2 separate regions of the Homo sapiens genome follow, and region 2 is linked to region 1. Evidence: promoter capture Hi-C in human tissues and cell types (Jung and others, 2019). All regions are on one chromosome and are shown on one strand. The core of a region is centred on a gene start or on the middle of the fragment in contact, and the rest is flanking DNA. Distances in the headings are between cores, read along the strand shown. Region 1 holds the start of CLU (clusterin). Region 2 overlaps PNOC (prepronociceptin).

The links. The method cuts DNA at HindIII sites, captures the fragments that hold promoters and counts their contacts. A contact is called where the count stands out against the background at its distance.
Region 2: a fragment that was not itself captured here is called in contact with the fragment with the promoter of CLU in region 1 in 1 of the 25 tissues and cell types used here (hippocampus).

What each region holds. Positions count from the first base shown.
Region 1 is chr8:27,612,205-27,618,815 of GRCh38, reverse strand. It overlaps CLU (clusterin), which reads left to right and starts at 4,116. Exons shown (of 9, transcript NM_001831.4): 1 at 4,116-4,161. RefSeq lists enhancers at 1,481-2,237, 2,528-3,028, 3,985-4,484 and silencers at 3,873-3,962, 5,518-5,703. The HindIII fragment of the contact is 13,101 bases long and covers 1-6,611 here.
Region 2 is chr8:28,318,373-28,325,684 of GRCh38, reverse strand. All of the region lies in intron 1 of PNOC (prepronociceptin), which reads right to left. Among named protein-coding and RNA genes, the nearest start is that of PNOC, 4.8 kb to the right of the region's middle. RefSeq lists enhancers at 6,400-6,911, 6,912-7,312. The HindIII fragment of the contact is 3,527 bases long and covers 3,065-6,591 here.

The sequences.
Region 1 (6,611 bases), core at 2,867-5,366:
CCTCGGCCTCCTGAAGTGTTGGGATTATAGGCGTGAGCCACTGCACCCAGCCTTTCACTAAGTTAAAAAAAATTAAAACTGACACGAGAATGGTACATATTTGTGGGGTACAATGTGATGTTTTGATACGTGCACACATTGTGTAAGGATCAAATTAGGGTAATTACCAAATCCATCTCAAACATTTCTTTGTGGTGAGAACATTGTAAGTTCTCTCTTCTACCTATGTTGAAATATACATTATTCAAAAAATAAGAGGTGCTGGTGAGGTTGTGGATAAAAGGGAAGGCTTATATACACTGTTGGTGGGAGTGTAAATTAGTTCAACCATTTTGGAAAGCAGTGTGATGATTCCTGAAAGAGCTAAAAACAGAATTAACATTTCACCCAGCAATCTCATTACTGGGTATATATAGGAATATAAATTGCTCTGCCATAACGACACATGCACTCATATGTTCATTGCAGCACTATTCTCAATAGCAGAGGCATGGAATCAACCTAAATGCCCATCAGTGGCAGACTGGATAAGGAAAATATGGTATATATACACCATGGAATACTACGGTATACACCATGGAATACTATGCAGCCATAAAAAAGAACGAGATCATGTCTTTTGCAGGAACATGGATGGAGCTGGAGGCTATTATTCTAAGTGAAGTAACACAGGAACAGAAAACAAAATTCTGCATGTTTTCACTTATAAGTGGGAGCTGAATGATGAGAACACATGGACACATAGAGGGGAGCAATAGATACTGGGACCTAAAAAAAAAGTTAAACTCTACTATGCGATAGAATACCAGAACTTATCCCTCCCATCTGACTTTAACTGTGTACTGGTTGACCAATCTCTCACCATCCTCCCTCCCTGCTCCCCTTGGAGAGTGATTCTCTTATTTTTTTCATTTTTATTTTTGAGAGACAGGGTCTCACTTTATTGCCCAGGCTGGAGTGCAGTGGTGCGATCGTAGCTCACTGCAGCCTTGACCTCCTGGGCTCAAGCGATACTCCATCTCAGCTTCCTGAGTAGCTGAGATTGCGGGCATGCACTACCATGCTTGGCTAATTTTTTAATTTTTGTAGAAACTGGGTCTTGCTATGTTGCCCTGGCTGGTCTTGAACTCCTGGACTCAAGTGATCCTCCCACCTCAGCCTCCCAAAGTGCTAGGATTACAGGTGTGAGTCACCACGCCCATCTGAGAGTGATTCTTAATCACAGGCCACAGGATACTGCTCTTGCCCATTCCTAGTTTGTTCCAGCTGTATCAGACTGCTGGCTGAGCTGTCCTGCTTGTGGTGCTGAGCCAGACAAAGGCTGGTTGGGGATGTGTAATAAGGACACTGCGTAGCGAAGCAGCCCCAGAGACATTCAGGCAGCCAGAGATGGTGCACAAAGCATAGATAAACAGATAAATGCAAGGGTCTTTACTCATCCCTCCCTGGCCCTCCCCATGGCTCTGACTCTCCAAGAAAATAAATCAAGCTAATGCCCCAAACCCAGCTGTGTAAGTCCATAATGGGAGACAGAGGATCAAACAGCAGCACCTGCCAAGAAGATGATGCATTCTCTATGAATCAGCCCAGTGACTCAGCATCTGATAAAGCTTATTTGGAGTGTTTAGGGCAAGGGAAGGGGTGGTCCTGTTCTGCTTTGTGTGCTCAGGCCCTCCGGCATTGGCTGGTCCAAGGCTCCCCACTGGCATTGGCTAGTCCAGGGCTGGGCCAAGGGTTTCAAGAGAGATGAGGTCCAGAATGTCAAAGGGCTGGGGAAAAGTCTGCAAACCACGGCAAGGCAAGGAGCTGCAAGCCTGGAGGTCACTGGGAAAAGCAGACTACGTTGCCTTCAAATATCAGAAGGGGCACTATGGGAGAGATAGGCTGGATTTTCTCTGTGTGGCTCCAGAGGGCAGAACTGGGCTCCGGATTGGCCCATACACGAGCCAGACTGTGACTCAACCAAAGAAGGCCCTAACTTTATCAACAGCTTTACTAGACAAATGGTTGCATGGCAGGTAGTGAGCTCCCTGTTATTGGTGGCATTCAAACATGGGCAGGATGACCACCGGGTGCAGATGCTGGGGATGGGGTAGGAATCAAGCAGTGTGTGAGTCCTGAACCAATCAATGTCTATGATCTGCTTAGAATATGAAACATCTGGTGATGCATTTATGGCGCTTTCAAAATTTACACTTTTCTTTCCTCAAAGTTTGACCTTCTGAACCTTGTTTGCTTAGTAGTGGGAATAATCAAGTAATTATTCCCAAGGGATCACAGTCATGACTGTGAATCTGTGAATCATGCTATTTTCTCCCAAGTCCTTTCTTCCTCTCTTCCCTTCCCCTAATTCAGCTGGCTAAGGCGGATCTCACTGACTGACCTCCAAAGTCTAATTTTTAAAAATATAACTAGATTTATGCCTTCTGTTCCGGATGCTGAGGGAGCTACAGAACAGAAAAGTTACAAGGAGCGAGCTCAAAAACAATTCTTCTAACCTCAGGTATTGATAAGGAGCAGGCACTGATAAGGAGCAGGCACTGTCCACAGAAAATGTAGCTGTTACTGATAATTAGACATTTTTTTTTTAAGAAAAATAAAGTGTAGCCTCTTCTGGGACATTTTTTTCTTCTTCTGGGTTAATGGCCTTCTAATACTTGGCTTGGCTCTAGGTTAGGTTGCAGGGAGCCGTGGAGATGATCCATTCCCGATTCCTCATCGTCCAGATGGAAGAAACTGAGGCCCAAGGGCAAAGTGATTAGTCCGAGGTCACCCAGTGTCTAGGGGCACACCTAGGACTGTAATCAGACTTTCATGGACCTGGTCTGGGTTCTCCCACTTAGTCATGGGCCTTGAAGATTCCCCGAGGCTGCCTCCTGAAAAGGACTGGGGTCCTAGTGGCCCCTGGACGTTGGGCAAGCAAGGGACTGGGCCTCCATGTTGTGCCTCCATAGTCCTGATCCTGAACTGGAAAACTCAGCCCCTGACCACGCAGCTCTCCTTTAAGCCCCTTTGTTTCACATGGTTTTCAAAGTCTGCCACCCACAGTGGGGCTGCCTGTACCCGCCCTGTCCACCCATTGCCCCAGCTGTCAGCCCCTTGACTTCTCTCCTGGGGCTTAAACATCCCTGGCTCCAAAATGGGCAGCTCACTTTCTTCCCCAAGAAGTAGCTGCACCTCCAGGGTTCCTAGATTTGCCCCTCCTTGCCAGGGGGAGGGGTGGCTGCGACAGGAGATTCTCCCTGCTCTCAGCAGAAGGAACTCCAGCAGTTGGAGACCAGCAAACCCCTCTGGACACAGATCTGATTTCCTAACTGGGAAGGCTCAGGGCAAAATAAAAATTCAGGTCCACTGGTTCAAAAACTATGAAGAATTTCAAGACCGTCACAGTAGCCCATTAAACCAAACGTGGATCTGCAAGGGTCCCACAGCCATGAAGCCCACCCTGCTTGGTTGGGTTCCAAAAAGATGGGGACAGTGATTGCTTAAGCTCTGTGGATCAAGGACCCCGGAGAGGCCTTCTGGCTCTCCACATATCTGCTCTGATCACTCCTAAACACAATTCTGTTTCCTCCAGGCCTGGCGGGTCAGTCCAGGGACCCCCATCAGTGTGATGTTTCCAGGAGTAGGCGTTTCAATACTTCCTGTGCTCTCTTCTCCAGCACAAGGCCCCTCTCCATCCCACCCTCATTATGTCTGACTCTTTACTATTTAAATGGGTCAAGAGAAGTGGCGCTTGTGTAATGTGAAGGTTAAGGTCAGTAGGGCCAGGGAACTGTGAGATTGTGTCTTGGACTGGGACAGACAGCCGGGCTAACCGCGTGAGAGGGGCTCCCAGATGGGCACGCGAGTTCAGGCTCTTCCCTACTGGAAGCGCCGAGCGGCCGCACCTCAGGGTCTCTCCTGGAGCCAGCACAGCTATTCGTGGTGATGATGCGCCCCCCGGCGCCCCCAGCCCGGTGCTGCACCGGCCCCCACCTCCCGGCTTCCAGAAAGCTCCCCTTGCTTTCCGCGGCATTCTTTGGGCGTGAGTCATGCAGGTTTGCAGCCAGCCCCAAAGGGGGTGTGTGCGCGAGCAGAGCGCTATAAATACGGCGCCTCCCAGTGCCCACAACGCGGCGTCGCCAGGAGGAGCGCGCGGGCACAGGGTGCCGCTGACCGGTGAGATGTCCCCGTCTTCCCTACCCTTGAGCAGAGCCACACCAGGACGGATGGGCGGGCAGGGGATGGCAGCCAGGCAGAGAGGGATGACACAGCTCGCAGTCACAACCCCTGCGCTTTCGACGGAGCCCAGGAAGCCAGGGAGGGGAGGTGGCCGGAGCCCCATCACCAGGCAGCTGAGCCAGGGGCCCCGGCGCAACCGCCGCCTGAGAGCACGAGCTCCAACCACAATTCTGTGGTGGGGGGGTAAATAGAACAGATATAATGATCATCCTTTCGCAAAGATGGGGAAACTGAGACCTGGAGACCTGCCGCGTTGCGGGAGACCCAGGCTAGCAGGTGACAGAGCTGGCCTGCACCGAGCTCCTTCCTGCAGCATATCCTCTGCGAAGATGCGGATCTCTCAGTTGTGGCTTTCGGCTTGCATGCATGAGTCATCTAGTTTTCTTCTAAATTCTCTAGCTCTCTGGACACTGTTGCCTGTAAGTATGAGGCTGCGGATTTCAGTATATGCTGCAACCACCGAAATCCGACTTTTTCTGCCTCCTAATGCATCTGAGGTGCATCAGAGAAAAGTCACACAAGATCCACCAGGCCTCAGACCTCTGATTCCACAGTCTCATTTTACAGATGATAATCTGAGGCCTGGAGAGGTTTAGGACTGGTGCCAACACTAAACAGCAAATAAGTATCAGAATTGGGATTCGAGCCAAAGCCTCTTGACCTTCCAGAATTTCTGGACCTAGTTAAAAAAAATATGATTTTTATTATTATTTTTTAAACGGAGAGGTTAGGAATTTAAAGGAAAGTACAGATACTATATAAAAAAAGATGCCCATGAAAATGTTAAGTTATAATAATAGTGGAGCATTGGGCACAACTGAAATGGCCAATCTTGTGAGAATGGTAAAATAAACTTAGGTCCGTGAGTAAGTGGAGTATTACATAGCCATAAAAGTATGCCCTTAAAGAATATTTGAAGATGGTGAATGTGAAGAATCTTGTATAAACTGCATGGAAGACAGAAGGAAATATACCACAGTGCTAACCTTTGCCTCTGGGTGATATGAATTACCGGTGATTATTTTTCTTATTTTCCTTTTGGTTTAGTTTTCTCCATTTGAAGAAGCAGATAGGAGCCGGGGCTTTGGGATTGAAACCCTCACCATCTGTGTGCCCTCTTCACTGTCTTCCCATCCTCCCCACGGCTCCCTGTTCACAGTCATTGATTTTCTTTCTTTCTTTTCTCTCTTTTTTTTTTTTTTTCCTGAGACCAAGTCTCACTCTGTTGCCCAGGCTGGAGTAGAGTAGCGCCATCTCGGCTCACTGCAACCTCCGCCATCCGGGTTCAAGCAGTTCTCATGCCTCAGCCTCTGAGTAGCTGGGACTACAGGCGCATGCTGCTACATCCGGCTAATTTTTGTATTTTTAGTAGAGACATGGTTTCACCACCTTGGCCAGGCTGGTCTCGAACTCCTGATCTCAAGTAATCCGCCTGTCTTGGCCTCCCAAAGTGCTGGGGTGACAGGTGTGAATCAATGCGCCCTGCCAGGTCATTGATTTTCTTAAGCCTCCAGCCCTGCCCTGCTTGGAAACGTTTTGGGAAGCTGCTCAGTTCAAAGTTCCCAGGAGGGTGTGCCTGGAGGGGAGTTGCTCCCAAAGTCTGCCTGCTCCCCCCGCCCCCCCTGCCCCCCACCCCCCGCCATCTTCTCCTCCTCCTCTTCCCCTGAGCAGCCCCTTTGTCCACAGAACCGGCCTTTTCTGGTAGAAGGAGCAAGGCCAAGTGGTTTAAGCCTTCTTAGGGAGAATGAGGCTGTGTGGTAGTGCTGGGGACTCGAGGGCCTTGGCCTTGGCATGGCTCTTCCACCCAGGGCAGCTGGCAGCCAGGCTCCCAGGAGGCAGAGGAGATGAGGGGGGAGGTGAGTCCGAGCAAAGGAAAGGAGGTCGGCTGTGCAGTCACGGTTCTAGAACATTCCTTGGATCAGCAGCATCCATATCACCTGCAGACTGGCTGGAAAAGCAGTCTCAGAACCAACATTATAACCAGCCCTGCAGTGATTCATAAGTACTTTAAAAAGTGGTCAATCATTTCAGCAAAGCAGAGCCACACAGTCCGGGGGACCACAGGTGGCCTCTGTGTGCTTGTCTCGGTTTTCCTGCCCCTCTCCAGACATGTTGATTAGACACTGCCAATGCCCAGCCTCAGACCTCAGTCTAATTTGGAAGTAGTCAGAATTTACTATGATTACATAAGACCCTCGTGTTTACAGAACACATTCCCCTCTCTGAGGTCTGGATTAGATCCATTTTACAGATGAAGAAACTGAGGCTCAGATATTTAAGTGACTTGGAATCAAGGAAAGAATACTGGACTAGGGGTCGGGAGGGCTGGGCTCTCATCCCAGGGTTACCATGAGCATGCTGTGGACTCTAGGGAGTCCCATGCCCTC
Region 2 (7,312 bases), core at 3,579-6,078, 710 kb before region 1:
TTTTTTTTTTTTCTTTTTCTTTTTTTTTTTTTTGAGACAGAGTCTCACTCTGTCGCCCAGGCTGGAGTGCAGTGGCGCGATCTCGACTCACTGCAAACTCCGCCTCTTAAGTTTAAGTGATTCTCATGCCTCAGCCTCCTGAGTAGCAAGATTACAGGTGCACACCACCACATCCAGCTAATTTTTGTGTTTTTAGTAGAGACGGGGCTTCACATGTTGGCCAGGCTGGTCTTGAACTCCTCACCTCAAGTGATCTGCCTGCCTCGGCCTCCCAAAGTGCTGGGATTACAGACATGAGCCACTGTGCCTGGCTTCTTAATGTCTTTTTATCTTGGCACTTGCTGTTCCCTCTGCCCAGAATATCCTTCTCCAACTCATCCTTCACACACACCTCTAGCATCATCCCTTCTGGGAAGCCATGTCCACCCCCTGGTCTGAGTTAGATCAGTCTCCTCTGCTGCCCTGGCATCTGGAAGAGCACATCATAGTGGGAGGCCAGCGAGCCTCGGGGGCCCCATCTATCAACACAGGCACAACAGACCCACGCTGCAGAGTGGCGGTGATATGCGCTTTCTCATCTGCTAATGACTACAGACTGCCTGCTTCCGATCACAGCTCTGAAGCTTGCTAGCTGTACTTGACCTCTCATTTCCTCATCTGCAAAAATGGGATGAAATTAGTACCTATCTCAGAGGATGATTAGTGGGTTAACGTTTGTAAGCAATTAAAATAGAACTGACAGGCAATAAGAATATATACGAAAGGAAAAGAAGGAAAGAACCTGGCATGCAGCATTCACTCTAACACTCTTTTTTGTTTTTTGAGACGATGTTTCACTCTGTTGCCCAGGCTGGAGTACAGTGGCACAACCTTGGCTCACTGCAACCCACACCTCCCAGGTTCAAGCAATTCTCTTGCCTCAGCCTCCTCAGTAGCTGGGACTCCAGGAGTGCACCACCACCCCCAGCTAATTTTTGTATTATTAGTAGAGATGGGTTTCACCATGTTGGCCAAGCTGGTCTCGAACTCCTGACCTCAGGTGATCCTCCCGCTTCGGCCTCCCCAAGTGCTGGGATTACAGACATGAGCCACCATGCCTGGCCTTACATTTCTCATTCTACTAAGTTTCCGTCTTTCTAGACATTTTTGTAGAATTTGTTCCAAACAGCGTGGCTGTGCCCTCTACAGCCACATGGTGGCAGTGGCTATACGTCGCAGAAGAAAGGGAAGGGAGGAGAAAAGGAGCCGTTTCCTTTCCTTCCTAATATGAGGTTGTAATACAGAATGTGTGCATAGGCTGAGCTGACAAACTGTGACAGATGTTAGCAAAATGCTCTCTGGCTGAGGTTTTTTGTGAACTTCATTAACTGGGGCAACTTGCATGTTCAGGAAATGTTGGCTGGTTTGACTGATGCTTGCCAAAATCTGGGTAAATGGGATTTAAGGGCGAGGTATAAAAGGAAGATGAGCTTCTGGGACACGTAGTACATGTTCCATTTGATAGTCTTCCTGCAGGTGAAATGTGAGGCCCTGCAGCTTGGCACTTAGGGAGACCTTGTTGAGTGTCCTTGGCTCTAGCCAGGACCTCCCTGTGGGTCAGAGGCACGTCTACCTTTCGGACTCCAACCTCCCGACCCTTCTCTGTCTCCCCTCACTTTTAACAATTGACTCCACTGATTATTTGAGGAGCCATCCATATTCAATGCTATCCATTCCCCCCTGCAATTCACAGAATCTGCAAAATGGAGATGACCACATAGTTCCATCCACCCTACAGGTGGCTTGCAAGCTTTAAAATGAGATTAATGTCAGTGAAAACTCAAAATTATGTAAATATCGTTATAGAGACAGCATTCTGTATTTTCTCATACACTTCCCAACACCTACTACAACTGTGTTCTAGGTTAAATCAGATTTTGAACTTTGAAAACTCAGTAGATGTTTTTCATTTGTAAGAAGTCTTGACTATATCTCCATGCTGGATGATGTTCTGTATTTAAATGGAGATGAGTACTTAGTTAATTCACGAGTTGTATTTGTGTTTAAACCTTACACTGTGGACCTGTGTGACTGCAGACAAGTCCTGAGATGGTCAGTCCTTTCAACTACAAAGTGGGGATAATAACAGGTTTGTTGTTACATTGATGCTGAAACTTTATACTTTGTAACGGTGGGACTGTGTGCAAATTATTTCACTTCTGTGAGCCTCAGTCTTCTCAACTGTGAAATGGGAATAGTGACAGGTTGTTGCTATTTTTATACAACCATAGCAAACATCAGTAAATCAAAAGTTACCTGAGTAGGCTGAATTTTCCATGGCTTGTATTTCACTTCGTGAGCCAAGCTCAGCTAATACTTCTATGTGGCAATACTATATTCTGAGCGTCTCATATTGAATAAAGAAATGTTGAATTGCCTTTTCTTTTGGTAATGACACCTCATAAATTTAATTGTGCCTTGCTGTTTATAAAGATAAAATACCACTATGGCTTGGCCTTAATCGATTTGCATGTAATCTTGCTTCCAAGGGCAATATAATTAGTTGCTTATCTGTTTGGAGAATCACATATGCAGCTTTAGCCGAAGCTGGACCCTAATTGAGTTTTGTCTTATGACCTATTCGAAGTCCTGTAATTTTGATGCTGCCAGCAGAGAAGAGGGGACTGCTCTTGCTAGAGGCAGATACACCTCCATCCTTTTCATCAACCACATGTAGAGAATATTCTTGACAGGTTACCAAAAAATTTTATATTCATATATTATACAACCCTGTAATCTAGGGTTAATATCAACCCACCTTTTAAAATGAACATAAACTCTTAGAGGTTAAGCAAGTTGACTAGGATCATCCGGTTTATAAGTAGCAGAGCCAGGACTTAAACTCAGGTGTGTTGACTTCAAACCATGTGTTCTGGGAAACCATCAACTTTACACACTGTTTCTGCTTTTGGAAGATTGCCAGATTCTGATGGCATCTCATTGCGGTGGAATCTATTTGCATTTCATAGCAATCATATTGCTATGACTTTAGAGCACTATGAGCCAGGCTTTGCGCTAATTGCTTTATAAGCATCACCCTATGGGGTAAGTGCTATCATCCCCATTTTATAGTTGAGCAGATTGAGGCTTGAGGAGCTGATGTAACTTGAAGTGGCAGAGCTGGGACTTATGTCTGACCCTGCCTGTCAGTGATCCCAGCAGCTGTCTTCATGTAGGGCTTCCTCTTGTCCTGAAGTCTGTACTCCCTGTCTGATGACAACCTTTTTTATTTACTTCTTATTTTTTATTTTTTGGAGATGGAGTCTCGCTCTGTTGCCCAGGCTGGAGTTCAGTGGCGCTATCTTGGCTTACTGCAAACTCTGCCTCCTGGGTTCAAATGATTCTCCCGCCTCAGCCTCCTGAGTAGCTGGGATTACAGGTGCCCGCCACCATGCCTGGCTAATTTTTTTTGTATTTTTAGTAGAGACGGGGTTTCACCACGTTGGTCAGTCTGGTCTCAAACTCCTGACCTCGAATGATCCTCCCGCCTCAGCCTCCCTAAGGTGCTGGGATTACAGGCATGAGCCACTGTGCCGGGGCTGATGACAACCTCTTTATGGTGGCTTCTCTCCAGTCCACACAGGGATCCTTCATTATGCACCAGCTGCATGTCCATCAGAAGATAGGTGGGTCTTCCCGATGCCCCATTTCTTAGACCCATTGCAGATAAGACTCCTACAATGGAGCTTATGCTTGTTTACCAGCTATTATGGAGAGAGGCTGCTTTAGTTTCTTTTCCTCTTCTGGCTGATACAATTACACTTCAAGTGTCTCTCCTCTCATCTAAATTTCCACCTGGAAAGAGGGGGACGGCATAGAGGAGGTGGAGGAAAGAACAATTGCCCAGCCCAGCACAGGTCAAGCATTCCCCAGGCTGGAGAGAAATGAACGCGTGAGAGCTGTGCTCAGAAACAAGAGTCCTGGCTTCTAGTCTGGCTCTGTCGTTACCTGTGGGATTTTAAGCAAGACCTTTTCTCTCTGGGCCTCAGCTTTTCCCTCTATAAGAAGAGGCAGTTAGATGAGATGGTTGATATTCTCTGATTTTATGAATGGCCAGATATTTGTCCTTTCCTGGAAGTAAGGATGGAAGGAAGAAGGGAAGAGGAAAAGGAGATGAAGGCTTTATGGGGAAGTAGCTTCCGGGCAGCATGAGGAAAGCCATAGAAAGAGTGTGGAGGGGGCAAAAGACACACGTTCAGGGCTACTGCAGGTGGGAAGGTAGCTCTCAACTCCCATCTTCCTGGTTCTGGGCCACACTCCCACATATACTGGCAACATAATTTAAATAGATTTTGGAAAGCTTTTATTTACTTTTAGCTGGGTGTATTGGCATGCAACTGCAATCCCAGCAACTTAGGACGCTTGAGCCCAGGAGTTTGAGACCAGCTTGGGGAACATAGTAAGACACCTATCTCTACAAAAAAAAAAAAAAAAAAAAATTTAGCTAGGTGTGGTGGTGCACATCTGCAGTCTTAGCTATTCAGAAGGTTGAGGCAGGAGGATAGCTTGGGCCCAGGAGGTTGAGTCTGCAGTGAGCTATGATTGTGCCACTGCACTCCAGTGTGGGTGACAGAGTGAGACCCTGTCTGTAAACAACAACAACAACAACAAAAGACCTGCCTGGGCAATATAGCAAGACCTCCAACTCAAAAAGAAAGAAAGAAAAGCTTTTATTTACTTTTATGTAATAAAATCATTCGGTGTTCTTTTCTAAAATATTGGAAAACACAGAGAAACAGCAATGAATCTAGGACAACAATCTTCAAACTTCTTCTTCTTTTTTTTTTTTTTTTTTGAGATGGAGTCTCGCTCTGTCACCCAGGCAGGAGTGCAGTGGTGTGATCTCGGCTCACCGCAACCTCCACCTCCCGAGTTCACGCCATTCTCCTGCCTCAGCCTCCCGAGTAGCTGGGACTACAGGCGCCCACCGCCACGCCCAGAGAATTTTTTTGTATTTTTAGTAGAGACGGGGTTTCACCGTGTTAGCCGGGATGGTCTTGATCTCCTGACCTTGTGATCTGCCCACCTCGGCCTCCCAAAGTGCTGGGATTACAGGCATGAGCCACTGCGCCCGGCCAAACTTCTTTAACTTTGTACCCCTAGCAGTCGATTTTGAGTACACATTCCTAATTTATTTATAAGTTACATACATTATAAAATCCACTAAAATGCAAATTAAGAAAGGTAAGATAAAAACAAAAGTCTCAGTCTCCTGAAGCCCATTGTGAGTTTGGAGGAAGCCAGCGCTCTGGCCACCCTGTGCTCCTGGCACTTGCTCTGTGTGGCTCCTATCAGGAACCCCACACACGTTCCTTGGCCGAATGAATGAAAGGATGAATGGGGAAGGAGGGTGGGGGGAAGATTGCAGGCCAGTGTGGAAAGAGGGGAGGTTGGATCTGAGCCACTGTGGGATGGCAGAGCTGGGGTGCATGGTGAGGCATGCTATCTACTCCACCTGCCAGGCTGGGCCCCCGGGCTGATGATTTTGTGCTTCTGCAATGTTGAAGCAGCTGCCAGTATTTTGAAAAAAAAAAAAAAAAAAAAAAAAAAAAAGAAAGAAAGAAAGAAAGAAACAAACAAAAAAAACCCCACAGGATCGTGGAAAATTGAGACTGAAACTAATTGTAGCCTATCCAGGGAGATGCCCAGAAAACTGGCTTGCCCCTGAAATCGATGTGCTCCAAATCTCATGACTAGTTTGTGATTAGATGGAAAACTTTATGTTCGACTGTGGGATTTAAATAAAGGCGTTTAGAAAATCCAGTTTGCTTCATGACTGCCCAGCAATTCAAGCCACTGCCAGCCACTCATTGTCAGGACGGCTCCCGTTTTCTGAGAAGGGCCCGTCCCTTTCCTAAGATATCTGAGGAGTAGCTCCACCCAGACTCGGAATGCAAGATATTTCAAAGCTTCCTTCGTGGGCTTTGGGAGCTGTGGAGCTGGATGGAGAAATGAGGGATCACTGAACCGTGTCAGTGCAAGTAGAGAACGCTCACCTGAAACTTCCCATTCCTACCAGTGTGCATATGTGCATGTGTGTATTAGCATGAAATAAGCACGTAGACAAGCTTAGCTCACTGCCTGGCACAGAGTGGGTTTCAAGAAATGTTAATTCCTTTGCCCTCATTTTATGTGTTTGACCTGGCTGCTGCCTCCCTCTTCAAAGCCCTTCACCCATCCAAATTCCACCTGCCTTCTCACTTGGTAGGATCCCAGGAATGCCTGGAGGAAATGCTCCTTCTCCCGAATTCTTCTAGCACTTGCTCTCTGGATTATGTGATTTAGGACTGAATTACACCCTGCCTTGCATGGTCCTCTAATTGTTTCTCATGTTTGTGTTACGTCTCTCCTCTACCCCCGACCCCACTATGAGTTCATAAGCACCCCTGACCGTAACGGGGAGATGAACTGGAGCCACAATGCCTTGGCTCAGTCCTGACCCTGCCATGTACTGAATAAATCATTTAATCTCTCAGTTTCAGTTTCTCCAACTGCAACACCGAGATAATGGCACCACCTCACAGGGCTGTTGCTGGGATAATAGGTGTGAAAGCGCCTAAATCGTTGTACAAATGTAAAGTGCTGTTATTATCACCTCTGCTGAATCTACTAGAGCCCCTGCAAGCCTCCCTGCCTGGTGGAGTGTAGACGGTAACTACCTGATTGATTGAATACAGGATAGCTTAGTGACAGCTCTTGTCATAGGCTCCAGGGAGCACAGGTTTGAGCCTAATCCTGCAATCACTCCCTTCACTGACAATGCAAACTCGCCTGCATTTTACAAATCCGTAAGTACTCTCAGCCTTCAGCTGATAAAGCAGGGGCTGCTGCCCTGTGCGCAACAAAACTGCGCCCTCAAAATGACCCGAGGCTGTACCACAGCGCCCTCGCCAGGCAGCACCAGGCGGCACATGCTTTTACAGAGGTGGTGATGGTTGGGGATGGGTTTTCCAGGGACCCTCCTCTGCAGAAGACTCAGCAAGCCCAAAGGAGCACGAATCCTTTTTGTTAAAGGTAACATAGCCTCAGTGTAAGCTTGTAGAATATTTCCCTGCCACACTTTACAAATGAGAAAAAAAGAGGCTGCATGCAGTAGCCACCCACAAGCAGCGAAAAAGAGCAGTATTTGCTTTGGGAGGTTTTGATAAGAAGCCAGGCAGTTACTTTTCCCATCTATGTTGAAAACTCTGGTTTGGGCTTGCTGGCGAATGCCGTGCAAAGCTCATCTTTTGTTAGTCTGCCGAACAATGTTATTGGTTATAATTGGGGCAAT